Regions from separate parts of the Homo sapiens genome. Here regions 1, 2, 3, 4 and 5 are each linked to region 6. Evidence: promoter capture Hi-C in 16 types of primary human blood cells and fetal thymus (Javierre and others, 2016). All regions are on one chromosome and are shown on one strand. The core of a region is centred on a gene start or on the middle of the fragment in contact, and the rest is flanking DNA. Distances in the headings are between cores, read along the strand shown.

The links. Contacts are between HindIII fragments. The CHiCAGO score rates a contact against its expected background, and 5 or more counts as called.
Region 1: a fragment that was not itself captured here is called in contact with the fragment with the promoter of FAM83D in region 6 in 8 of 17 cell types (naive B cells, activated CD4 T cells, naive CD4 T cells and 5 more); the score reaches 10.8 in naive B cells.
Region 2: a contact is called between a fragment that was not itself captured here and the fragment with the promoter of FAM83D in region 6, in 6 of 17 cell types (naive CD8 T cells, total CD4 T cells, activated CD4 T cells and 3 more). The highest score is 6.7, in naive CD8 T cells.
Region 3: a fragment that was not itself captured here is called in contact with the fragment with the promoter of FAM83D in region 6 in 1 of 17 cell types (naive CD8 T cells); the score reaches 5.3 in naive CD8 T cells.
Region 4: a contact is called between a fragment that was not itself captured here and the fragment with the promoter of FAM83D in region 6, in 2 of 17 cell types (total CD8 T cells and naive CD8 T cells). The highest score is 6.0, in total CD8 T cells.
Region 5: a fragment that was not itself captured here is called in contact with the fragment with the promoter of FAM83D in region 6 in 4 of 17 cell types (total B cells, total CD4 T cells, naive CD4 T cells and 1 more); the score reaches 6.6 in total B cells.

What each region holds. Positions count from the first base shown.
Region 1 is chr20:38,621,584-38,625,673 of GRCh38, forward strand. ARHGAP40 (Rho GTPase activating protein 40) reads left to right here. Exons shown (of 15, transcript NM_001164431.3): 2 at 1,776-1,975. Among named protein-coding and RNA genes, the nearest start is that of ARHGAP40, 22 kb to the left of the region's middle. The HindIII fragment of the contact is 778 bases long and covers 1,660-2,437 here.
Region 2 is chr20:38,585,172-38,589,167 of GRCh38, forward strand. ADIG (adipogenin) reads left to right here. Exons shown (of 3, transcript NM_001393816.1): 2 at 858-990; 3 at 2,930-3,292. The coding sequence ends at 976. Among named protein-coding and RNA genes, the nearest start is that of ADIG, 6.0 kb to the left of the region's middle. The HindIII fragment of the contact is 224 bases long and covers 1,634-1,857 here.
Region 3 is chr20:38,564,134-38,568,201 of GRCh38, forward strand. RALGAPB (Ral GTPase activating protein non-catalytic subunit beta) reads left to right here. Exons shown (of 30, transcript NM_020336.4): 25 at 1,226-1,345; 26 at 2,963-3,099. Among named protein-coding and RNA genes, the nearest start is that of ADIG, 15 kb to the right of the region's middle. RefSeq lists an enhancer at 741-1,241. The HindIII fragment of the contact is 2,897 bases long and covers 275-3,171 here.
Region 4 is chr20:38,533,916-38,538,109 of GRCh38, forward strand. It overlaps RALGAPB (Ral GTPase activating protein non-catalytic subunit beta), which reads left to right. Exons shown (of 30, transcript NM_020336.4): 16 at 1,159-1,292. It also overlaps the pseudogene RPS3P2. Among named protein-coding and RNA genes, the nearest start is that of MIR548O2, 19 kb to the left of the region's middle. The HindIII fragment of the contact is 3,425 bases long and covers 494-3,918 here.
Region 5 is chr20:38,605,821-38,609,756 of GRCh38, forward strand. The region is part of intron 1 of ARHGAP40 (Rho GTPase activating protein 40); the gene reads left to right. Among named protein-coding and RNA genes, the nearest start is that of ARHGAP40, 6.0 kb to the left of the region's middle. RefSeq lists an enhancer at 2,463-2,963. The HindIII fragment of the contact is 7,117 bases long and covers 1-3,936 here.
Region 6 is chr20:38,923,421-38,927,777 of GRCh38, forward strand. It overlaps FAM83D (family with sequence similarity 83 member D), which reads left to right and starts at 2,997. Exons shown (of 4, transcript NM_030919.3): 1 at 2,997-3,505. The coding sequence starts at 3,023. RefSeq lists a silencer at 2,615-2,974 and an enhancer at 3,085-3,184. The HindIII fragment of the contact is 27,857 bases long and covers 1-4,357 here.

The DNA.
Region 1 (4,090 bases), core at 799-3,298, 300 kb before region 6:
TTAGGTTAAATATGCCTGGGGAGAAACATGAGATGTCTGCACACCAAAGTGTTAGCATGGAAAACGTGGTCGTAGCCACAGGAGAATGATTGATATTCTACTTTGCTCACTTCTGCATTGCTGGGAATTTTTACAATAACTGCATATTGATTTTATAAGGGAAAATATAGCTAACAAAAATGTTTTAAGGCCGGGCTCAATGGCTCATTCCTGTAATCCCAGTACTTTAGGAGGCCAAGGCAGGCGGATTGCTTGAGCCCAGGAGTTCGAGAACAGCCTGGGTAACATGGCAAAAACCCTGTCTCTACAAAAAATGCAAAAATTAGCCAGGCATGGTCATGTGTGCCTGTAGTCCCAGCTACTCAGGAGTCTGAGGTGGGAGGATGGCTTGAGCCTGGGAGGCGGAGGTTGCCGTGAGTCATATCGCACCACTGCACTCCAGCCTGGGCCATAGAACCAGACCTTGCCTCAAAAAACAAAAACAAACAAACAAACAAACAAAAACAGAAAAGCACATATATATATATTTTTTTTTTAAAAAGGCAGCATGTGGATGACTTTTCCTTTTTAATCCAAATGAGTCTTGTTTTTTAATAGGGCAGTTCAAACCACCTATGTTTATTGGTTTTCTTTGCCTTTTGTTGGTTTCCACATGGGAGCTTAAATATCTATAGAACTTGCAGAATATACATTTTTCCCACTTGAGGAAACTGGGGAAATGGATTTCTTCCCTCTCTTCTGGCAGGGGTAGTTTATGGTCTATTTGCTGGCATGTGTCAGGGTCTAGGTGATTCCAGTCTAGTATTTTTGCCATTATGACCAACCCTACCATTTCTCAAGGATTTGGGCCAGCAACAGGGACATTTTGTCCCTAAGCTCATCTGAAGTCCTGGACTTCATTTATATGGACCAGGAGACTTGCACTGTCTTACCCTGAGATTCTTTGATTGCATGAAGCAGAAATTCATTGAGTGTAGCTTGGGAAGAAGAGGGGGATTAAAGGGAAGGATGTGGGAGTCAGGGCTCTAGGGGTAAACCACATAGCCTGGATCATGAAAGGCTGCAACTGGGACCTGGAAAATCAAGCTTAGGTTACCCCACATCCCTCCATGCCTGCAGAGGGTCTCCTCTCTGCTTCTTTTGGAAGACTGGCCACTCCAGCCCCACACAGCTTCCAGTTCACGTGCCTGATACTGACCCCTCTGCCCTTGGTTCAACACCTTGAGAGAATGAGATTGGCTCAGTGATGTATAGCACCTCTGTGATCAGGTACCTGCTCTGTTCAAAGCTGGCTGGGAGAGGGGAGGAGATGAGGTGCTCCTGTGATACAAACAGGAGACCCAGGGCTTGGCAGCCAGACTCACAAAGGAGGAAGTGTGAGGGAAGGAGACAGGAGACTTTCTGGGTAAAAATTCAGTGAGATCCACGAGACACTGCCCTGTCATTTCCTCGCCTGTCCTGGTGTTTAATCCCCTCTTGGGAATGCTGCCTTTACCGTAGGTATGTCCAAGACTGTTAGCCTTGACCAAGAAGGTGGAAGCAAGCAGAGCAGTCTGGCCCTGCTCTGTCCCCTGCAGCATTGCTGGTTTCCAAGGATCCCGCAGGGGTGATGGGTCACCAGTCAATTTGCTGAGATCACCCTGAGAAACATGCCTAGGAAGCTTGCTTAGCCCCCAGGGGCCCAGGCTGATTTCTGGAGAGCCACAAGCCTCAGCACAACCCCCATCATAAGCAGAGACTTGCTGACCTCCCTGCACCTTCCCCACTTGCTACAGCTCTGGCCCCTCCTCAGGCCGAATGGATCAGCTTCCCCAGAAGAATCTCCTGCGACTACACCCTGCTGGCTCTGCTGGCTGTTCCACTGGAGTGGAGAGCTCCAGCATGGATGGCTTTTGGATGGAGGTGGAACAGATCCAACAGAGAGATGAGCTGAGGGAAGAGGACAGTGGCGGGAATGAAGGCCAGCTTCCAGAGGGTGAGAGACCCTGGCGGGGGCCTATAGGGGTGGTGGGAGGGCTTGATTCCAGGCAGAGAAATGTCAGAGGATCCAGATATGAACCAGAACATGACAGCATTTTCTCTGTTGCCTGGACTGGTGCAGTATCCTCTTCACTGCTCTCCCTGCTTCACCCGTGATCCTTACTGTCTGTTCTCCATGCCATAGTCAAGACGATCTTTTAGTAATGTAAATTAGATTATGTCCCTCCTTAGAGTAAGTCCTTCAGGAAATATTTTTTGAGTGCCTATTATGTGCCAGGCACTGTTTAGGCACTGGGGATACAACAGTGAACACAAAACAGTCTCCTATATACAGACCTAATGTTCTAGGGAAATTCTAAGCCCTCTGCTCTAAATCCTCAAATATCTCTCCATCTATCTCAGAGTAATAGACAATTATGTGTCCCTATTATCTACTACTATGTAACAAACCACCTCAAGCTTAGAAGCATAATGCAGCAATAATCAATTATTATGACTATTACTATACCTCACTGTTGGAGGGGTTGAGTGGGCTCAGCTAGGTGGTTCTTGCTCAGGGCCTCTCATGCAGTTACAATCAAATGGTAGCTGGGGCTGGACTCATCTCAAAAGATTTCTCATCTATGTGCCTGGTGGTGGATGTGACCATCAGGGGGCCTCATCTGGGATTATCATCTGGAATACCTGCATGAGGCCTCCACATGTGGCCTGGGCTTCCTCACAGCATGGCGGCTGGGTTCCAAGCACAAGACCAAGAGAGAGAGCTGGGTAGAAGCTGTCTTGCTGCTTATGACCCAGCTTTAGAAGAAAGACAACATTGCTTCTGCTGCATTCTGTTACCCTGCATGCAGCTATGTTCAAGGGGAGGGGAATTAGACTCCACCCCTTGATGGGGTGAGAGTCAAAGAATTTGGGGACGTGTAATAAAGCCACCAGATCATAACTTACCAGGCTTTACATAATTGGCTTCGTGCCTCCTCTCTGCCTCTTCTCCTCCCACCCTGACTGGCTGTCACTCTACTTCTGTCCTCGGGCCTCCTTGCTGGTCCTTGACCCTAAAAGCACTTTCCTGCCTCAAGTCCTTTGGTTCTCTCTGCTCCCTTGGCCTCAAATGCTCTTGCCCCAGGCATCTGCATGGCTTGTTCTCTCCAGTCAGGACTGGGCTCAAATGTTACCTCCTCAGAGAGGTCTTCACCAGCTTCCCTACACAAAATAGCACCCCTGCCCCATCACTCTCTAGCCCCTGCCCTACTCTGTTCGTTGCTGCAGCAATGATCACTGCCTGACTTTACCTAGTGCACTTCACTGTGCATGTGTCTGTGACCCCCACTAGAATGTAACTTCCATGAGGCCAGGGACATCATCGGCCCTTTTCACTGCTGTGTCCACAGTGCCTAGAACAGAGCCAAGCACATTCCCCTCCTCCATCCTTACTTGTTCAGCAGATGAGGGAATGAAAGGGCTCCACATGGAACCCTTCCTGGTTTGGCATGTAATTCAGCTGGGCTTGCCCCTGGTTGGCAAAACAGACCACGTGGTGATGCAGACCTCCTAAGGGCCTAATAGTCTCATGCAGTGCCTCCAAGTGTAAATGTAAAAACATCCCTGGTTACACTAGAAGTGGTTTCAGGAGATGCCCTGCATAGGAGGTCCTCCATGTGGCCTCTCTGGAATCATGATGTGGCCAGCAATCTAATTTCCCACAATACACAGGGAGTGGAGTCAGAGTGGGTCAGAGAGAAGCCACTTTGAGCAACCAAATAAACACAGGAGCTTTTTTAGACTCACAGGGCTGAGGGATCCTGAGTGGCATGGAGCCAAGACTGGTTTTTTTTTTTCCTTTCTTTTCTTTTTATTTATTTATTTAATTTTTGAAACGGAGTTTCACTCTGTCACCCAGACTGGGGTGCAGTGGCACAATCTCAGCCCACTGCAACCTCCATCTCCTGGGTTCAAGCGATTCTCCTGCCTCAGCCTCCCAAGTAGTTGGGACTACTGGCATTCACCACCACACCCGTCTAATTTTCGTATTTTTAGTAGAGATGGGGTTTCGCCATGTTGGCCGGGCTGGTCTTGAAATCCTGATCTCAGGTGATCTGCCCACCTTGGC
Region 2 (3,996 bases), core at 496-2,995, 340 kb before region 6:
TCCTAGAAGATGCTGATATTATGCCCATTGTACAAAAACCTTTGTTACTTCTCTGCAACTAGTGAAACAATGCAAGAGTTTAGTAAGAAAAATAATCTTCCCCATCCCTCTTTTTTTCTCACCCTACCTCCCCAAGATGAGTCTGTTAGCAAACTCATTAACGTGTGCAGGTTTTCAAAACAAATTGGGGAATGGTGCAGCATTTGCTTTTCAAAACAAAAAGATCCTACATTTCTTTTTAATTTGCTTATAATATACCGTAGATATTCTGCAAGTCAGAAGATACAGATATGATGCAAACATTTTAACAGCTTCATGACAAGCCATCAGACGGAGGGTCCGGGTCTCCATGTGGTGTGACTCTCCCACAGCTTAGTCACCCAGATCTCTCGTGATCTGTGGACGTGGACACAGTTTCCAGGTGTTTTATTGTTCGTGTGTGCGTGTTTCATCACAAAACAGGGCTACAGTGGAGATCATTGTGCCTTTGTACTCAGATGTTTGTTAATGAATGAACTAGTGGACTAGTGGCCTGGATGGGTCAATAACTGTGTCTCTTCACTGCCTCTTCCTGGACCATGTCCAGTACAGTATGTCATTTGCTCACCTCTGTGTCCTCCCCTCTAGATACGGCCATTTTCCAAGTCACAGGAGCAGCCTTCTTTCTTGGTCCCTGGTCACCCTTTAAGGCCCTGAAGTCTTCCTGAGGCCTCAAGGCTGGCTCATAGGATTCTGCCTTGGCCCTAGCCTCAGGCAAGGCTGCAGGGATACCCAGGCCTGGCAGGGGACTCCTTCCTGGGTCAGGGGTAGGAGACAGGATGTGACCATCCAAGAGGCCTTGCCTCGTATCTCCACAGATTCAGAGGAAAATGACTCCAGTGTGTGCTTGGATTGGGAGCCCTGGAGCAAAGGCCCAGCTGAGTTTTGCTGGAAGGGGACACTCCACGGCCAAGAGAAGGAGAGGCCCTGCTGGTGAGCCTGCTGTGCCAGGTGAGGCCCTTCCAGGGGCCAGGGGGAGCCTCAAGGCCCACCCAAAGCCTTGGGCAGCTGCTATGTGGGCAAGAGGCTGCCTCCACCATATTAGAGGTATGCTCCCTGGCCATGCTGGATGACGGGTTCTCTCCAGCATGTGAGAGCCTTCTGCTTCATTGTGGGGGAGACCTGGTGTTGCCCTGTTAAAGGGCCAGCCCCCTGTGCCACAAGGAGCCTTTACAAAGGTCCCCTACCCTTTACCCTAGGGCCTCACCCCCCACCACTTTCCTGATGGTCTTTGGCCAGCTGTTCCCTCAGACGTCTGCGTGGGGCACTCCCTCCCCTCTGAGGGCTTGCTCTAATGTCACTTTTTCAGCAGAGTCCCACTGGCCACCCTATTCGATATTGAAGCCCCCACCCTATCCTCCGCATCGTGCTGCTTACCCTGCTCTGCTTTCCTTTCACTGTAGTACTTACCGCCTTCTAACACGTTTGATCGTGGCTGCATCCAAAGCCCCAAAATACTGCCAGACACATGCTAGAGGCTCAATACATGTTTGTGGAAGGATGACATGATATTATTATTATTATTATTACAATGGCTGGTATCCTTGGGGGCTCAATAGGTACCAAGGCCTGTCTGAACCGTTCCCCTTCCACAAGCTTACTTATGAAATCCTATGATGAGGATATGATTCTCACCTCCATTTACAAATGAGGCACACACACATACTCTCATGTGAGGTGTCAGGGCAATCAGATGCTGTACCCAAAGGCCCTTGCACCCATTGAATTCCTAGGAGACCTCAGCCATTCCAGTGGGGTTAGATGCCATCTCTATACCAATGGCCCCAAAATGTGTGTGTCTCATCTAATCTCCTCCCAAGCTTTATTATCTGTCTGCTTGACACCCTCTCATGCCTAGAATAGGAATCTTGATTCCCATTGTCACCCAGCCAAGCAAAACAGCACCCTGATCTTCTGCTAGCTTTTCTTCATCTCCATGAATAGCACCACTGTGGATTGATTCTGTTGCCCGAGTCACGAACCCGGGAGCCAGCCTCTCGCCTCTCTCTCCCAACTCTAATCTCCATCTCTCACGTGTCCGCCTTTCTCTGCCCTACTCTGAAGTTGGTTCATGCAGTGTGTTCACTAGCCCCCGACCCTGTCTGAGTGGAGGGAGGAGGTGGTGAAAAGGAGGGCCCCTCACTTAACCTAAGTTGTAATGATTTTTTAGCCTTTTGGGTCCCACCTTGACCACTGAGGGCCCTTTTCCCAGGAAAACTCCTCCTATGAATGCCCTCAGAGATTTGTGTACGGGGCCAGCTCCACAGGTGTGTAACCTGCAGTCCCACAAGGTCCCAGGCTTGGTTTCATGCTTGGCTATTGCTGTCTTGAAATTCTTAATTTTTGAACAAGGGGCCCCACGTGTTAATTTGCTATTGGGCCCTGCGAATTATGTAGCTTGATCTGTTTTTATATAATTTGTGGCATGAGAAAAGATTTTCGGACGCTGCACAAGAACCCTATCCCATTTATGCATAGCCCTTCCCTTCCCACCCCCATCACTTACCCACCTCTTTCTTTCTTTTTTCCCTTTTTTTTTTTTTTTGAGACGGAGTCTTTCTCTGTTCCCCAGGCTGGAGTGCAGTAGCGCAATCTCAGTTTACTGCAACTTCTTCCTCCCCAGTTCAAGCAATTCTCCTGTCTTATCCTCCCGAGTAGCTGGGATTACAGGCACATGCCATCACGCCCGGCTAATTTTTCTATTTGTAGTAGAGACAAGGTTTCACCATATTGGTCAGGCTGGTCTTGAACTCCTGACCTTAGATGATCCACCTGCCTCGGCTTCCCAAAGTGCTGGGATTACAGGCATGAACCACCACGTCTGGCCTTACCCACCTCTTTTTTCTCATCCCAATGGCATCCCTAGTCCCAACCTTCCTTTTGTTTCTAGTTTGGTTTTCCTGGAGTCAGCAGGGCAGTGGCAATGGCAGAAGTGGATGGGAGAGACTTGCCAGGGAGGCAAGAGGACTTTGGCAACTGTGGTGCCTCCCTGGAACCCCCAACTCATCTCCTCTTCAGACCGACATGTGAAAGCCTCCAGAGGTCCCAGCCCTTCTCCAGCATCACAGATGACCTCCAGCCCTGCAGGGAGCCGCTCAAGTCTGGGAGGGCATGGGAGCAGTGAGCAGGCCCATGGGGAGAAATTGGCCAATTTAATTCAGAGGGGTCTTAAAGCAGGGCTGGGCCGGAGGGTGTGGGTCCATATTAAAGAAGCAAGGGTCTTCCCATACCCGGGGGACCCCTGACAAACCTACCAGGCCTGACCAAGTCATTCATTCAACCAGCGTAGGTCCGAGACTCAGCCCTGGCCCTGATTCAAGCCATCTAGGACCTTCTTGGGAATGCCCAACCCTCTTCCATCTGTTCAATGGGGATGGGGGGCTTGCTCTGAACTTCCATTCTCTGATTTCAAATTCGCTCCTTGATTGGACTTCAGGCTGATCTTAATAACAAATATTTGATAAATAGCTGCAGAGTGTCTACCAAGTGCCTAGTTTGGTAGGAGCAGGAATAGCTATAGGAGTAGCTCAACATTTAGTGAATGCTTACTACACGTCAGGCACTTTTCTATGTGCTTTATACATACGATTGCTGGCCGAGCACGGTGGCTCACACCTGTAATCCCAGTACTTTGGGAGGCCAAAGCGGGTGGATCACTTGAGGTCAGGAATTCGAAACCACCCTGGCCAACATGACAAAAACCCCATCTCTACTAAAAATACAAAAATTAGCCAGGTGTGATGGCTCACGTAGTCCCAGCTACTCGGGAGACTGAGGCACAAGAATCGCTTGAACCAGGGAGGTGAAGGTTGCAGTGAGCTGAGATCGTGCCACTGCACTCCAGCCTGGGCAACAGAATGAGACTCGGTCTCAAAGAAACAAAAACAAAAACAAATACATACGATTGCTTTTAGCCCTTGTAAGAATTCTGCAAGGTAGGTTGGTTACCTCTGTTTT
Region 3 (4,068 bases), core at 473-2,972, 360 kb before region 6:
GAGTGGCTATTGGGATAGTAACCACAGCATCTACTACATCAAATACAAAGTGCCTGCCCGGAGCCCACACCAGGAGTCAGAAAACTAAAGCCCTGTTTTTGTAAATAAAGTTTTATTGGAACTCGGTCACACTCTAGATTATACATTGTCTATGACAGCTTTCATGCTACAATGACAGAATCGAGTAGTTGTGGCAAAGACCCTGTGGCTTACAAAGCCTAAAATGTTATCTGTCTGGTCCTTTACAGAAAAAGTTTGCTAACCTCTTGTCTAAAGCTTCCTATTTGCCATACCTTCACCAGAATTAGGTATCTTCCAATTTTTTCGGTGAGAAATTTTTAATTTTTAATAATGGTTGAGCATATCTTATCATATTTTTATTTATTCCCTGAGAAGTACTTGTCCATTTCCCCTTTCCAATTTTTGGTCCGATTGTTGGTCTTTTATGTATTGCTAGTAGGACACTGAGTTCATTTTAATTGAGAACTATATAGCTCTCATGAATGTTTCTTTTGTTAATTCAGTCTTCCTGGCTTAGAGCAGATACTATTACTAAAACTGGCTGTACATTTTTATACAGTGTCACTGACCATTGAGGAAGGTGGAACATAGGCCAACTTGAGGAGCCATAGAGAGAGACCAGGGATAGAAATGCCTTAAAAGCAAGAGTCCAGAGATAACGCACATGTGCACTCTCTCTCTTCTCTCTCTTCTTCTCTCTCTCTGTCTCTTCCTCCCTCCTCCTCCTCTTCCTCCTCCTCTTTTCCTCCTCCTCCTCCCTTCTTCTTCTTCTTCTTCTTCCTCTTCCCCCCTCTCTCTCTCTCTCTGTCTCTCTCTCTCTCTCTCTGCCTGCCTGCCTGCCTGCCTGTCTCTCTGGCCCAACTCCCTTCTGAGGGACTGGGATGGTCTTCCTTTTGATTATTTATTTACTGGATCCAAAGGACTGCTCCCTTAATCTGCTTCATACACTTGAATTAAAAGCCCTGCTAATCAGAAGTGGTCTGATATACAGTCGTTTCAGAAATTATGAAATTAAGATTTTATTATTTAAAAATAAAGACATCTAATAAGCATTATATTTTATTCTTTCATACTAATTGGTTCTTGTTGAAAACATATATTCTATTTATCACTTTATTAACCAGTTAACATTTCATGTAGCAAGATGATACTGGTTTTTTCCTACTTTTTGAAGCGGTAATGTAGTGTTTCTTTTTCCCAGAAGAAGTGATTTCCTCTGAAGATATTGGAGCTAGCATTTTCAATGGACAGAAGAAGGTGCTGTATTATGCTGATGCCCTTACAGAAATTGCTTTTGTGGTTCCTTCTCCTGTGGAGTCCTTAAGTAAGATGATTTTTGCATGGTCCTGTTTTAGGATCTATTTTTATATTCCTGGGTTGTGTGATATTACTGCATTGGAAGAGATTTTGAAGTGATCTAAGGCATTCTTTAGCTTCTAAGGCATTATAACAATATGCAGAAGCACAAGATGTCTTCTCTTAACTTTTTTATGGAAAGTAGTTAAAGACAAGCAGACTGACCCTCTAATAATCTTTAAATAGTGAAGGAATCCCATTTCAACTGATATTTTGCTTTCTTTAATCTAATTAATCAATACATAGGCTTATTTTCCAGTTCATTTCTTTCTCTAATTACGAGTGATCCCTCACCTACTTTTCTATTCCCATATGAGAGCCTTTGCATGGAACCACCTAGAATCCTACAACTGGAAGTATCTCATGATAGCATATGGCCATTCTTCTAACACTGAGCAAGAGAAACTTCAGCAGCCTAGAAAAGATGGTGGTCCAAGACTTTTTAAGAATTGGGAGTAATTATTACTTCTTAGTCTGAACTCACAGTTTTATTTTGCCCAGAACCTTTGCTCTTTGCAAATTAAGCCTGTTTGTTCATGCCTGACCGAGTAGGTGGTCTGGCAGTAGGTGGGAAACTTCACCTTCTTCTTTGAGATCATTTGTAGGATGGGATACTATACATCACGATTTCAGTCTTATTTCCAGACTAATGACTTTTGTTGTGCCCTACCTTGGTAGCTGCCTAACCTTTGTACTTGGACCCTTGATTTCTCACTCTAGGCCCCTCCCTGTCTTACTCTCTGGGGCCGGCTGTGTTCCTGGAAGGTTGGACCTTCCATGGTTTAGGTTTGAATTATAACAGCTGTTGGGCTTCCCGTCAAGGTTCTGGTTTACTACTTATAATTCCAGAAGCCAGAACCTGTCCGTCCTCTTTGGGGACATACCTGCCTGGTTTCTCTGGCCCAGCCTGTTAGTACCAGACAAGTCCTCCCAGAGCTAGAGCCTCGTCCTTATTCTATAGCTCCTGCAATTGGGTCTTTGTCTCCTGTTGTGAAACATCTCCTATGCCAACTGTGCCCACTCCAACTCAGCTTCCTCCTATTTCTGATATTTGGGGATTTTTTTGGATGGGGTGGAGGATAACTTTCTGTGTACTTATCTCCAACCAGATTGCTCTTAATCACAGAGACTAGATCTTCTGTAGCTTCTGGATGTCCCAGTGCCTATTTGGCACAATGCTACATGATTGAATATATAATCTAAATAATTCAGAGAGTAATAATGGCATTTATTATATTCTACATCTGAAACGTCAAATATTTTCTAGTCTTATTTTGGTTATCCTTTAGAGCAGGAGCTGGCAAACCACAGTGGCACAAGCCAAATGCCGCCAAGAATGGGTTTTACATTCTTAAAGGGTTATAAATAAAATATAAAGAAGAATATGCGAGAGATCTGTATAGCCAGCAAAGCCTAAAATACTTAGTACTTGATCCTTTACAGAAAAAAGTTTGTCAGCCCTTGCTCTCGAAGCAATGCTTTGTTTAAGTGATTTAGGTTAGACTGGTGAGCATAATTAGTTTTAACAGCCTTGCTCCAAATAAGTGGTATGTATTATAGTTGCTTTTTTTCCTTTACCCCATAGCTGATTCATTGGAAAGTAACATCTCGGACCAAGATAGTGATTCAAATATGGATCTTATGCCAGGAATTCTGAAACAGCCATCCCTGACACTTGAGCTTTTCCCCAATCATACAGACAATCTTAATTCCTCACAGAGGGTAAGTTACTTTGTTGATAGGTCTCCAAAATTTTGTAGTGAAATCAGGGTAATTATAGAATCCTGCCTGAAAAGCTTTTAACCCAGAGAGTATTTATATCAGAGTACTGATTCCTTAGTAACTTAATTTTTTAAAATAAAATTCTCACGATTTTCTCTTTTTCAGCCTGTAACAAATAGTTCATTCTGAGACAGCCTTTGTGGTTTCTCTTGATTTCACCATTCTGGTCCCGTACTTGATTCTCTCATCTGTTCCTTTTTAAGCCTAGGTTTTAATTTTGTCCCTGAAATATCCACTAAAGTTACTGCAGTAACTACATGTTTTTTTATCTTTAATCTTGCAATGTTCATCTTAAACAAGTCTGACCATATAAAAATAGGAACATTAGGGAGAATAACTCAGTATATGGATAAATATTCTGAGTGAGGAACACAGCACCTACTACAAGAGGAGCTTTTTGCTTTATCTTTTTTCTTACCTTATCAGCAAATGTTACTTTATCTGTGATCAGGTCAGAAGTGTAGGAAGATTGACTTAGAACAAAACATAACAAAGACAGAAGTGTCAGCTTGACTAAAGGTGTTCCTCCATTGTACAGGATTTTAGGTTAGCTTCCTTCCACAGTGAAAGTTATTTTTAATGTAAGTGTATGCTTAAAAGAGAATACGGGGAGGTTTTTACCTTTAAAATTGATTTAGGAAAAAAATGCCAGGTGGTGTAATAGTCCCTGGAGTAGATTGATTTGAGAATCAGGAGTTTTTAAAAGGTTTTACAGAATACAGTTTAGAGATGATCAGTCAGTATTGCATAGCAATGCAAGATTTTAGCCAAATCTAATACTTACTTTAAAAGTTTTTTTTATTTGAGATTTGTGGACAGAACTAGTATTCAGTGATTAGCTGCCCTTATACTCATTTTCTGAATGCCAGCATAGTTATTCCTTAGAACCCAGATAAAGCACCATGTTTT
Region 4 (4,194 bases), core at 956-3,455, 390 kb before region 6:
ATCACCTGAGGTCAGGAGTTCGAGACCAGCCTGGCCAACGTGGTGAAACCCCATCTCTACTAAAAATACAAAAATTAGCTGGGGGTGGGGGTGGGTGCCTGTAATCCCAGTTACTCTGGAGGCCAAGGTAGGAGACTCTCTTGAACCTGGGAGGCAGAGGTTGCAGTGAGCCAAGATTGCGCCACTGTACTCCAGCCTGGGCAACAGAGCGAGACTCCATCTCAAAAAAAAAAAAAAAAAACAGAAAACAAAAACAAAAAAAGAAATTTTTCATTACTGCATGTGTTCTAATATAAATGTTTTAAGTGATTATTGTTTGTTTCAGCATTTTGAGCTGGTGTTAGTGAGCTCTGCTTGTAATGTCGTAAAATATTTTTTACTAAGAAATCCTGATTTGTGTTAGTGTCGCATGAGTGTCTCTCTTTAATGATCATTCCTTTTTCTGTTGTCACTGCCCTCTTTCTGATAGGATCGACAGGTATAATGTCCCTAAAGCTTCCTTTATAAATTCAGTTTAATTTGTCTTTATTTAATTTTTCCTAATTTCCTATTAGCTAACTAGTGATTGCTTTTACATATAGATTGGAGCCCAAATAAAAATATGGTGGCTTGGTTATTTAATTTTTTTAGAAGTATTAAAGTAATCCTGGAGAATTAAATGTTAAAGTATGTTTGAAAAGGCATTGCATGTGAGTTTTGATGGCTTAAACCCTGTAAGTAATTTCAACAGATGCTTGCTTCAGAGTAATTCCTAGCATCTGAGGAGGCCGTAAAATTAGAACTTTCCTCTGTAAAGTTTCAAGGAAATAATTGATAGCCTTTTCATCACTCTTTTTGAAAATGTAGCTATGAGTTGATAATTTAGAAACTTTAAATTACGTTGTTATGAAAATGACACTGAAACTGCCAAATCCCACGGTTGTGTCAAAGTGCGTGAACCAGGAACTAGAAGCTGCTCTGGTCTAGCACATGTGCCTGTGCACCGTGTAGTCAGGCTTGGCACTCAACCCAGTGGGGTGGGGAGCGTAGCACTGTGTGGGTGCCCGTCGTTCTCACTGTGGCTGCTGTGGTCTGTGCCTAGTGGATGCTGTGCTTCTCGTTACTAATGCTTAGTTGTTTTCCCTCCCTGTGGGATGTGGCATTGGGGTTATATCCTAGCTCTTAATACAGATTCAGCTGCTGGGCTCCTGATTCGCAGCATTCATCTCGTCACCCAAAGACTCAACTCCCAGTGGCGCCAAGACATGAGCATATCACTGGCAGCTCTAGAGCTCCTCTCTGGCCTTGCAAAGGTGAGGAAGACAGTCCTTTTATTTTAACCCAACAGCCTTGGGCCTTGGCTGTTTTTTCTGTATCTCTTAACCCCTTGTGTGGGTATTTTAGTGTTGATCATGCTCAAACATAGTTTATATTATATCCAAAGTGTACAAAATTTAGCCTCCAAGTGATATTCTATGCAATGAACTTTACTTTTTAAAAATAGGTTCAAAGAGTATGAATGAGATTTTTACCGTTAAATTATAGGAAACATTTCAATACTTGCCATTTATTTATTTGCATATAATACTAGAATGCATATTGATTTTGTAAAAAATGATTATCCTAATGTATGCCATTTGGGATTACCTGTGGCTCTGCCATCCTCCATTATCAGAGATAAGTGAAAACTGGCTACACCTTTTTTTTTTTTTTTTTGAGACGGAGTCTTGCTCTGTCGCCCAGTCTGTAGCGTAGTCGTGCAAACTTGTTGCACTGCAGCCTCCGCTTCCAAGCAATCCCCCTGCCTCAGCCTCCAACTAGCTGGGATTACAGGCATACGCCATCACAGCCAGCTAATTTTTGTGTTTTTAGTAGAGATGGGGTTTCACCATGTTGGCCAGGCTGATCTCGAACTTCTGACCTCAGGTGATCCACCCGCCTTGGCCTCCCAAAGTGCTAGGATTCCAGGTGTGAGCTACTGCACCTGGCCTTGGCTACACTTTTTAGATTTCTTTCCCAGCCGTTACTTCAGTTTTTTGGAAACTTAGAACTTGGTGGTCATTTGTGCTTCTCTAAGTGTATTCTTTTGAGATGAAATTTGTGTAATATAAAATTAGCCATTTAAAAGCAAACAATTCAGTGACTGTTGGTACATTCACAATGTTGAGCAACTTCTACTTCTAGTTCCAAAATGTTTTTATCATCCCTAAAGGAAACCCCATACCCATGAAGCAGTTTTGCTTCAGTCTCCGCACCCCCTCCTCTGACAACCACCATTTCATCTCAATGGGTCTACCTATACTGGACATTTCATATAAATGGAATCATACAATGTGTGACCTTTTGTGTCTGGTTTCTTTCACTAAATGTAATGTTTTTGAGTTTCATTTATGTTGTAGAATGTGTCAGAACTGTATTCCCTTTTATGATTGGATAATATTTCATTGTGTGTATATACCCCAGTTTACCCATTTATCACTTGATGGACATTTGGGTTGTTTTAATCTCTAGGCTGTTGTCAGTAGTGCTGCTGTGAACATGTATGTACATGTATTTGTTTGAATACCAGTTTTCAGTTCTTCGGGTGTACACTAGGAGCAGAATTACTGGGTCATATGGTAACCCTATGTTTAACTTTTTGAGGAACTGCCAAACTGTTTTTCACAGTGACTGAATCATTTTACATTCCCAGTGTATGAGAGTTTCACTTTCTTTGCATTTTCTCTAACATCTAGGTGTTTTCTTGACAGTAAGATGAGCAGGATTATCTTACATATAATATATAATTGAGGAAATACGTAAAATATTTTGTGAACAAAGAGCCGATAACCAGGTGCTACTGTCTGGGATGATATGGTTCAAATCCTTATTTTTCAGTTATGGGAATAGTTGTCAGAGGCTGTGACTTACCTAAGCTGTAAGAAACAAAATAAGCAATAAAACCTAAGGTGTTCTTACCACCACTTAGAGCTTACCTCAAAGATCCTCCAGGATGGACATCATAACTTTGCGAGAAGCAGTTACTGGTACAGAAAATAAAAAACAGCCATTTGTGAGACATACAGGACCACACTGTCTTTGAGAGCAAGGTACTGTTTCCTGTGACCTTTAGTACACTCAGTAGTAAGCAATAATTAGTCCTAAATGGAGCACTGCTCTGGACCTGCCTAACAATTCATAAAGGGCTAACACTACCTGATTTGATGATTTACTGTAAGGCTACAGTAACACAACAGCCTGGTATTGGCATAGGGGTGGACAAATTGATCGGTGGAAGAAAATAGTATATCCATACTTAAGTGGTCATCTGATTTTTGACAAAGGTGCAAAGGTAATTCAAAGGAGAAAGGGTGGTCTTTTCAACCAGAGGTACTATAAAACAATTGGATAGTCATACACACAAAAAAAAGCCAAAAAATTTTGATTCATACCTTGCACTATGAACAAAAATTAACTCAAACTGGCTGGGCATGGTGACTCATGCCTATAATCCCAGCACTTTGGGAGGCTGAGGCAGGAAGAGACCAGTCTGGGCAACATAGTGAGACTTTGTCTCTATTACATAAAAATATATATATAAAACCTAAACAATAAAACTTCTAGAAGAAAACAAGAGAAAATCTTTGTGACCTTGGGATAGATTTCTTAGGTGTTACGCTAGAAGAACAAACTGATATGTTGGACTTCAAAATTTAAAACTGCTGTTCTTTAGTAAACACTGTTAAAAGAATGAGATGACAGATCACAGGCTGGGAGGAAATGTTTATAAAGCATATATTTGATGAAAGATTTGTATTCAGATTACATAAAGAACTCTCAGGACTCAATAATAGCCTTTCCTTTTGGTGGTGCACAGCAGCAATATGGTGGTGAAAATTTCTAAGAAGAGGAAGTTTGATAGCATCTTCAGAAATAAACTGAGCGAATTCTTCACTCAGAAGCTTGCAGAAGGTGACTACTCTGGAGCTGAGGTCCAAGTTATGCCAACCAGGATAGAAATCACTACCTTAGCCTCCAGGATGCAGAGTGTTCTTGGTGAAAAGAACCACCGGATCTATGAATTGGCTGAGATAGTTCAGAAGAGGTTTGGCTTCCTTGAGGGCAGGGAAAGCTTTATGCTGAAAAGGTGGCCTAAAATAATTCTCTATGCCATTGCCCAGACAGAGTCTGTGCTGTAAACTACTATTAGGGTTTGCTGTGAGGAGAGCCTTCTGT
Region 5 (3,936 bases), core at 60-2,559, 320 kb before region 6:
TATTTTATAAATGACATTTCCATCTTTATAATATCTTTTCCTGGAAAGACATAGAAATCAACATTATTCTTTTTTTTTCTTTTGGAGACAGAGTCTTGCTCTATTGACCAGGCTGAGGCTGGAGTGCAGTGGTGGAATCACTGCAGCCTCAACCTCCCAGGCTCAAGTGATCCTGGGACCACAGGCATGCACCACCACGCCTAGCTATTTTTTTCATTTTTGTAGAGACAGGGTCTCCCTATGTTGCTCAGGCTTGTCTCAAACTCCTGGACTCAAGCAATCCTCCTGCCTCAGCCTCCCAAGTAGGTGGGACTACAGGCATGTGCCACCACACCTGCCCTTACGTTATCCTCTTTAAAGACTGTGTGATGTTTCATTTTATGACTGGACAGTACTTTTGTTAACTAGCCTCCTGTTGATGGAATTTTAGGTTGCTTCTTTTTCTCTTTTGGTTGCTATTATAAACTATACTGCAATGTTCTTGGACATATATCTTTGTGTACTTATGATACATTTTCAGAATAGGAATCATGGAGTCCAAAGGTGTATACATTTAAAATTCTGAAACATATTCTGGGTGGTTTTCCAGGAAGGTTGTACCCAATTAGACTCACCAAGTGGGTGTGAGCTTGTTTCCTAATATACATGACATTCTTGACCAGACATTATTGTTCATTTTTAGTCTTGGCTAATTGGATTGGGAGAAACCTGTCTCTTGTTTTAATTTGCCCTTTTTATTATTATTAGTGAGGCTGAGCATCTTTTCACATGCTCAGTGTCTGGCAGAGTTCAAAGGCAGATCAGAGAGGCAGAAAGACCCATTTTGAGTCTAGTGCACCAGCCAGATTTCCTTAATCAATAATGGGTTAAATGACTTGGCTGATTGCACACAGATAGCTTGTAGAATCAATCACCTTTACAAGGTTCACCTTCACTCATATTTTGCTCATGTGTAGCTCAAGTCTCTGCCACTGGGGTCAATGTCAACTGATCTCTCCAGACACACCCCCTTGTATGTGAACGCAACCACTGAATAAATCACCTACACATGGTTTAAATATGTCAGGGGTAGAAGGACAGCCTGAATCTGAAAGCCCAGCTTCACCACTTATCAGCTGTGGACCTCTGGGGAAGTTACTTAACCTTTCTGAGCCTTGGTTCCTTTTCTGTAAAATGGTTGTGAACAGCGGTACCTGCTTCATAGACTTGTTGTGAGGATAAAATGACATTAATGCATGTGAGGGCTTAGTACAGTGCCCACCATTTAGAAATGGGACAATTTGTGTCAGATATCAGTGGTCAAAGGGCAAGTTCTTGGAGCTGACTCCAAATAGCACAGGCTTGTTTTCATGGGACAAGTACATTCGGGACTCCTGACTCCTTGGCATAGCAGAAAAATTTGCATTTGAGTCCTAAATCCTCCACTCATCATTGGGAAAGTTCCTTCATTTCTCTGGGCCTGATCCTTCATTTGTGGAATCAGTGCCATTCAGATAGTGGCTGCCGTTCACACTCACACATCCTCCTGGTTCGAAACCCGGAACGGCCACCTCAGATCCGCAGCTCAGGGGACCAGGCTGCCGCTGGGGGCTTCTGACCAGCTTTGCAGGAAAAAGTCCTTGCAAACCACTTTCCTCCAGGGCTCTCCAGCAGGAGGGGCCTCCTCAGATCCTGCTTACAAACCAGCGAAGGGCAGGTCCCTTCGGATGGAGCTTCCTATTTTCCCTCTTTTCTCACAATGAAGCAGAGGTGAAGGTGTTAATTACACCAAGCAGTTAGGCTGCCGCCCTTCACAACCCTGGGGTCCTCACCCTGCCTGCAATGTGGAGGCCGCTTCTCCACCTCCCCTCCTGTCAGGCGTCACCGACTCTTCCCAAATTGACCAGCAGATGCTCATCCAAGTGTGAGAAGGTCTTTTCTCGATACTTGCCAGTACTGAGTGTTGGCAATCTTTTCTGTGTTTGCCAATCTGATAGAGTTCATCCTTGTTTTATTTCGCATTGCCCTGATTACTTGCGAGGCTCCACATCTTTTCACATAGGGCATTTGCATTTTATCTCCTGTGACTTGTGGATTTCTATCTGCTGCCAACTTTCCCAGTAGATTTTTTGGGTATTTTTTTTCTTGTTGCTTTCCAGGAACTCTTTATATATATAGACTGAATAGTAACACTTTATCATTTGTTGCAGATATTTCCTCTCAGTTGAGGAAAAAGGTCCTATGACATTTTTTATAGTGTCTTTTGTCATACAAAAGTTTTAAGTCTTGATGTAATCAACTCAGCTTTCTTCTGTTATGGCTTCTGGATTTTAATTTGTTTGGAGAGTTGTTCTGCACTACCATTTATTTCTTACTGACTTTGTTCTCATTAAACCCTAATACAGACTTCTATCCACCCAGGGAAAACTTTGCACTTCCCAGCATAAAGACCTGCTCCCCTTCCTGGGAGATTTGCATATCTCATTTCCTCCCAGACATTCACTGACTTGTTTCTTTAAAACTGAGTTTCAACACCACCTCCTCCAGGAAGCCTCTTCTCAGCCCACTCCCCCTTTTGTTCTCTAGTTACTACTCTGTCCCCTCGGGCTGTTTGCCCCATCTTAAGAGGACTGTTGGCTGCTGGCTGCTCGTTGGTCGGAAGGCAGCCTTGTGTTTTCATGTTTTTGGAGTACTTACTATGGGCTGAATGTTTTACAGGCCTTACTTTATTTCATCCTCACTGCCTTCTGTATACTATCACACAATCACCCTGATTTTATAGGCCGCACATCAAGAGGACAGACCTAGGCCCAGACAGTGTGACTTCAGGGCCTTGGTCCTTAGCCACTATAGTGGCTAAGGTGACTTAGGGCCACAAATTTAGTGGCCCTAATTTGGGCCGTTGGGGCGGTGAAAAAGGGCCACAAATTTAGTGGCTGAAACAATACAAAGGTATTATCTTAGAGTTCTGGAGGTCAGAAGTCCAAAATGGGTCTTACTGGTCTAAAAATCAAGGTGTCGGTAGGACTGTGATCCTTTCTGGAGGCTCTCGGGGACAATCAATTTTCTAGCTTCAAGAAGCCACCTGCCTTCCTTAAGTTGCGGTCCACCTGCATCTGCAAAGGCAAGAGTGGCCGGCTGAGTCCTTCTCATGCTACCATCTCTCTGGTTTTCACTCTTCTGCCTCCCTCTTCCCCATTTAAGGACCTTAGTGGTTTCATTGGGCCCACTCAGGCAACCCAGAATAATCTCCCCAAAATCAGCTGATTAGCAACTGTAATTCCATCTGCAACCTTCATCCCACCTTTGCCATGTAACACACACATTTACAGATTCCAGGGAGTAGTGGGTAGTGGGGGGGTTATTCTGCCTACCCGCAGTCACCCTTCCATATTGCTTTTCCAAACTTCAGTCCCCTGCCTCCACCCTCAGGAGTCATCCTGCCTCCCTCCAACCTGGGGCTTAGATCAGTGCCTTGGAGTCACCTGGAAGGCTTGTGCAAACACAGATTGCTGCACCCCACCCCCAGAGTTTCTAATTCTGTAGTTCTGAGGCGAGGGCTGAAAATGTGCACTCCTAACAGGCTCCCAACTGATGCTGATACTGAAGGTCTGGGGCCCACACTTTGAGAACCACTGGGTTAAGTTTATTAATCCTTCAAATATTTATCAATATCTGCTCTGTTTTGGGAGCTGGGCTTATACAATAATAAAAAGAATGTCTCTGGTCTCAAAGAGATCCCAGACTAAAGGAGAAAACAAACAGGCAATGACCATGGAGGGCGGTAAGTGCCAGGACATCAATGAGCCCAACGCCTCTAGGAGGGCTGCAGAGAAGGCTTCCTGGAGGAGGTGATGCCTGAGCTGAGTCCCAAAGTAGGCACTGAGCAGGCCAAGGATGGGAAGGAGAAGGGTGTTCCTGGCAGTAGCTGCCAACTGGGCAAAACTCCAGGGCAAG
Region 6 (4,357 bases), core at 1,747-4,246:
CTTTCACCCAGTCTGGAGTGCAGTGGCGTGATCTCAGCTCACTGCAACCTCTGCCTCCCGGGTTCCAGCAATTCTCCTGCCTCAGCTTCCCAAGTAGCTGAGATTACAGGCGCTCGCCGTGATGTCCAGCTAATTTTTTGTATTTTTAGTGGAGATAGAGTTTCACCATGTTGGCCAGGCTGGTCTCCAACTCCTGACCTCAAGTGATCCTCCCGCCTTGAGCTCCCGAAGTGCTGGGATTATAGGCGTGAACCACCACGCCCCGCCTCTCATGACATTTATATGTAACAAGGGTGCCCCTCTCCTCTGTCCCATTCTTGGAGTGAACTGACATGTCCTGTCCTCTTCCCCCTGCCCCATTCCACTCTTTCCCCTCGTGTGCTTATTGTGGGGAAGTACGATACTATAAAGTACTTCACCTTATGACAGCAATACAGCAGCTAAGGCCCCGGCCATTCTCATTTTTTACCTCGAGCATTAAAGGCATAGAGAAGCTATGTGGTTGCACAGCCTCAGACCACAGTCCTTGGTCCTTGTCCCACACAGAACTTTGTTGGTGTTTTTCTTGAAAGAGGATGAAAAGGGTGTCGGATCACAAGGTCAGGAGTTCGAGACCAGCCTGGCCAACGTGATGAAACCCCATCTCTACTAAAGATGCAGAAAATTGGCCAGGTGTGGTGGCATGAGCCTGTAATCCCAGCTACTCAGGAGGCTGAGGCAGGATAATCGTTTGAACCCTGGAGGCGGAGGTTGCAGTGAGCCGAGATCACGCCATTGCACTCCAGCCTGGGTGACAGGGCAAGACTCCGTCTCAAAAAAAAAAAAAAAAAAAAAAAAAAGAAGGTGCTCTCTTGCAGCCTCCCGGACCCTGGATACCAGCGCAGGGACACATGGAAGTCCCCACACTTATTCTTGAGAAACTTCACAAAGGGATGGGGATGGGGAGAGGAGAGGTAGAGAGGGAGAGGCGTCTCAACAGCGGCAGGCATTCATCCATTTAAAAAGGTTATTGGTTGCTAAATAATAATGGTAACATCTCACATTTATGACCCACTTTTCATTTACATAAAAAAGATGACGACTGAAAATTGACTGTTGGATTTAGCTCTGTGGAACTCATGATGAACCTGACAAGAGGTTTTGGTAAAGCAGTGGGGGTTTTAGCCTGATTGAAGAGGGCTGGAAGGGAACTGGAGACAGCAAGTATAGACAACTGGTTTGAGGGTTTCTTTTCTTTTCTTTTCTTTCTTTCTTTTTCTGAGACAGGGTCTTACTCTGTCACCCAGGCTGGGGTGCAGTGGTGTGATCATAGTTCACTACAGCTGCAAACTCCTGGGCTCAAGTGATCTCTTGCCTCAGCCTTCCCACTGGCTGGGACCATCATGAGCACTGCCATGCACTAAAAGTTAGGCGCACCACCATGCCCAGCTAACTTTTGTATTTTTTTGTAAAGACAGGGTCTCACTATGCTGCCCAGGCTGGTCTCAAACTCCTGGGCTCAAGTGATCCTCTTCCCTTGGCCTCCCACAGTGCTGGGATTACAGGTGTAAGTCACCATGGCCAGCCACATCTGAGATTCTATGCTGCAAAAATAAGAAGTGAGATGGGGAGCTTTAGAGGAATGTAGGGTCAAGAGAGGGTTGTTTTAAGATGAAAAATATTTCAGCATGCTTGTAGGCTGATAGAAATGAATCGGTAAAGAGGGAAGCTGATGTTCCAGGAGAAAGAAGAAGATTGCTGGAGCGATGCTGGTGAGTAGTAGAGGGGCTGGAAATGCCCAGGCAGAGGGGTTGGGGTTGGATGGGCACAGGCACAGTTCATCAATGCCCAGTATACGGGCAGAGATGCAGACAGGAAGGTAGACTAGATGGCCGCACGTGGACGTTCCCTTCTTACTGTTTCTGTGTTCTTGCTGACATGGAAGACAAGCTGTCAGAGAGGAAAAGGTAGAGAGAATGAGGGAAATGCGGCCTACCAGGCAGTTTTTTTGTTTGTTTGCTTTTGTTTTGTTTTGTTTTGTTTTTAGATGGAGTTTCGATCTTGTCGCCCAGGCTGGAGTGCAGTGGTGCTATCTCGACTCACTGCAACATCCGCCTCCCGCGTTCAAGTGATTCTCCTGCCTCAGCCTCCCGAGTATCTGGGATTACAGGCGTACACCAAGACACCTGGCTAATTTTTGTATTTTTAGTAGAGACGGGGTTTCACCGTGTTGGTCAGGCTAGTCTCAAACGCCTGACCTTAGGTGATCCGCCCTCCTCGGCCTCCTAAAGTGCTGGGATTACAGGCGTGAGCCACCGCGCCCGGCCTCCTAGCAGGCAGTCTTACGGATTATGAATTTAAAACATGACCAGTCAGTAAGCATGGTTACGCTCTTTTTGTTTTTTCTTCAGCCCTGTAGGGCTGCCGGGGTGCAGGTGGAAAGTAGGGTATAACCACGGTTGGTTGGGGTTTTACAAGGCAAAAATCGATGAAATGAGAGAAGACTACCCGAGGGTGTAATCAAAGGAGCAGTCCTAATACGATGAGCCGGTATTCTTTGAATGAATGAATACATGGTTAAAGGCAGGTGATAAAGGCGATATGGTTGGCCATGCCAAAGCACTGAGAGCCTAGGAGCAGCGTGGCCAGAGTCTCCGGGAGTCGGCACCTGCCTCTCCTCGTTGTCTAGGCCTGACTGTCCCTGGCCTTGCACGGCCGCGCAGCGGGGCGACCGGCAGGGGGCGCGCTGGGATGGCCAGGAGCTCGGCTCTCCCCGCTCTGTCCCTGCTCTGCGGCCCGCCTCGCCCCTGCAAGTTTAAATTCCTCTTAGCAAGCCCAGCATCGCAGCCAATAACGCATCAGGGGGCGGAGCCGTAGAGGCTTGCGCCCCGCCTCGCTCCGCTATTGGAAGGAAAGCAGCCAATGGGAGAGCCGAGGCGGGGAGGTGCGGCCAATGGCGCGGGCCTGTTTGATTCAAAGGTTGCCTATAAAGCGGGACTGCACGCCGGTTTTTGTCCGAGGGCTGTCGAGTCCGAGCGCCGCCATGGCTCTGCTGTCCGAGGGCCTGGACGAGGTGCCCGCCGCCTGCCTGTCGCCGTGCGGGCCGCCCAACCCGACCGAGCTGTTCAGCGAGTCACGGCGCCTGGCTCTGGAGGAGCTGGTGGCGGGCGGCCCCGAAGCCTTCGCGGCCTTCCTGCGACGCGAGCGCCTGGCTCGTTTCCTGAACCCCGATGAGGTGCACGCCATTCTGCGCGCGGCGGAGAGGCCGGGAGAGGAGGGCGCGGCGGCGGCGGCGGCGGCCGAGGACTCGTTCGGCTCCTCGCACGACTGCTCTTCGGGCACCTACTTCCCCGAGCAGTCGGACCTGGAGCCACCGCTGTTGGAGCTTGGCTGGCCCGCCTTCTACCAGGGCGCCTACCGCGGCGCCACGCGTGTCGAGACGCACTTCCAGCCCCGCGGCGCTGGCGAAGGTGGCCCCTACGGCTGCAAGGACGCTCTGCGCCAGCAGCTCCGCTCGGCGCGAGAGGTGAGCGGCCCTCCAGGGCCCTGGGTCGCACGGGAGACCCCCTTCAAGAATGGGAAATTGAGGCCTGCTGGGAGTACGGGCCGGGGCCACTACCTCCTCTGCGCCCTACCGGAAGCGCGCGCGGGCTAGGTGGTCCCAGGGTCTCCGACTCACACCCCACTCTGCGTGTCTCCCCCGGATCCCCCGGGCCGCTCCTCGTGGCAGGGGATAGTGGGAAAGCCTCGGTTCCCAAGGATGCGAATTGTGCCCGGGTTCCATCTCCTAACGTTCATATCCCTGAAGGAGGGACCAGAAGTACTCTGAGTTCCAAATTTCAGTTAAAATCAAACTTGGAAAATTGCCTATTTCCCTGTCTGTCAGCCAACGCTAGATCCCACTTTCAGGAGCTTCTTAGGAGACTCATTACCAAAGAACTTACGCAGGGAAAGTTCCAGAAAGATGGTCTCCAGAGACAACTACGGGGCATTAGGAAGCAATTATTATTGCTAATTACTTTCATGCATCTTTTGCTGTAAAAAGCAGATAAACACGAGAGTGGCAAAGTGAGAGCCCTGCCGCTTTTTCTTTCTTGTCTTTTTTTTTTTTTTTTTTTTTTGAGACAGATTCTCTTTTGCCCAGGCTGGAGTGAAGTGGTGGGATCTCAGTTCACTGCAACCTCCGTCCCCCGGGTTCAAGTGACTCTCCTGCCTCAGCCTCCCAAGTAGCTGGGATTACCGGTGCCCGCCACCACGCCCGGCTAATTTTTGTATTTTTAGTAGAGACGGGGTTTCTCCATGTTGGCCAAGCTGGTCTCGAACTCCTGACCTCAGGTGATCCACCCGCCTCGGCCTCCCAAAGTGCTAGGATTACAGG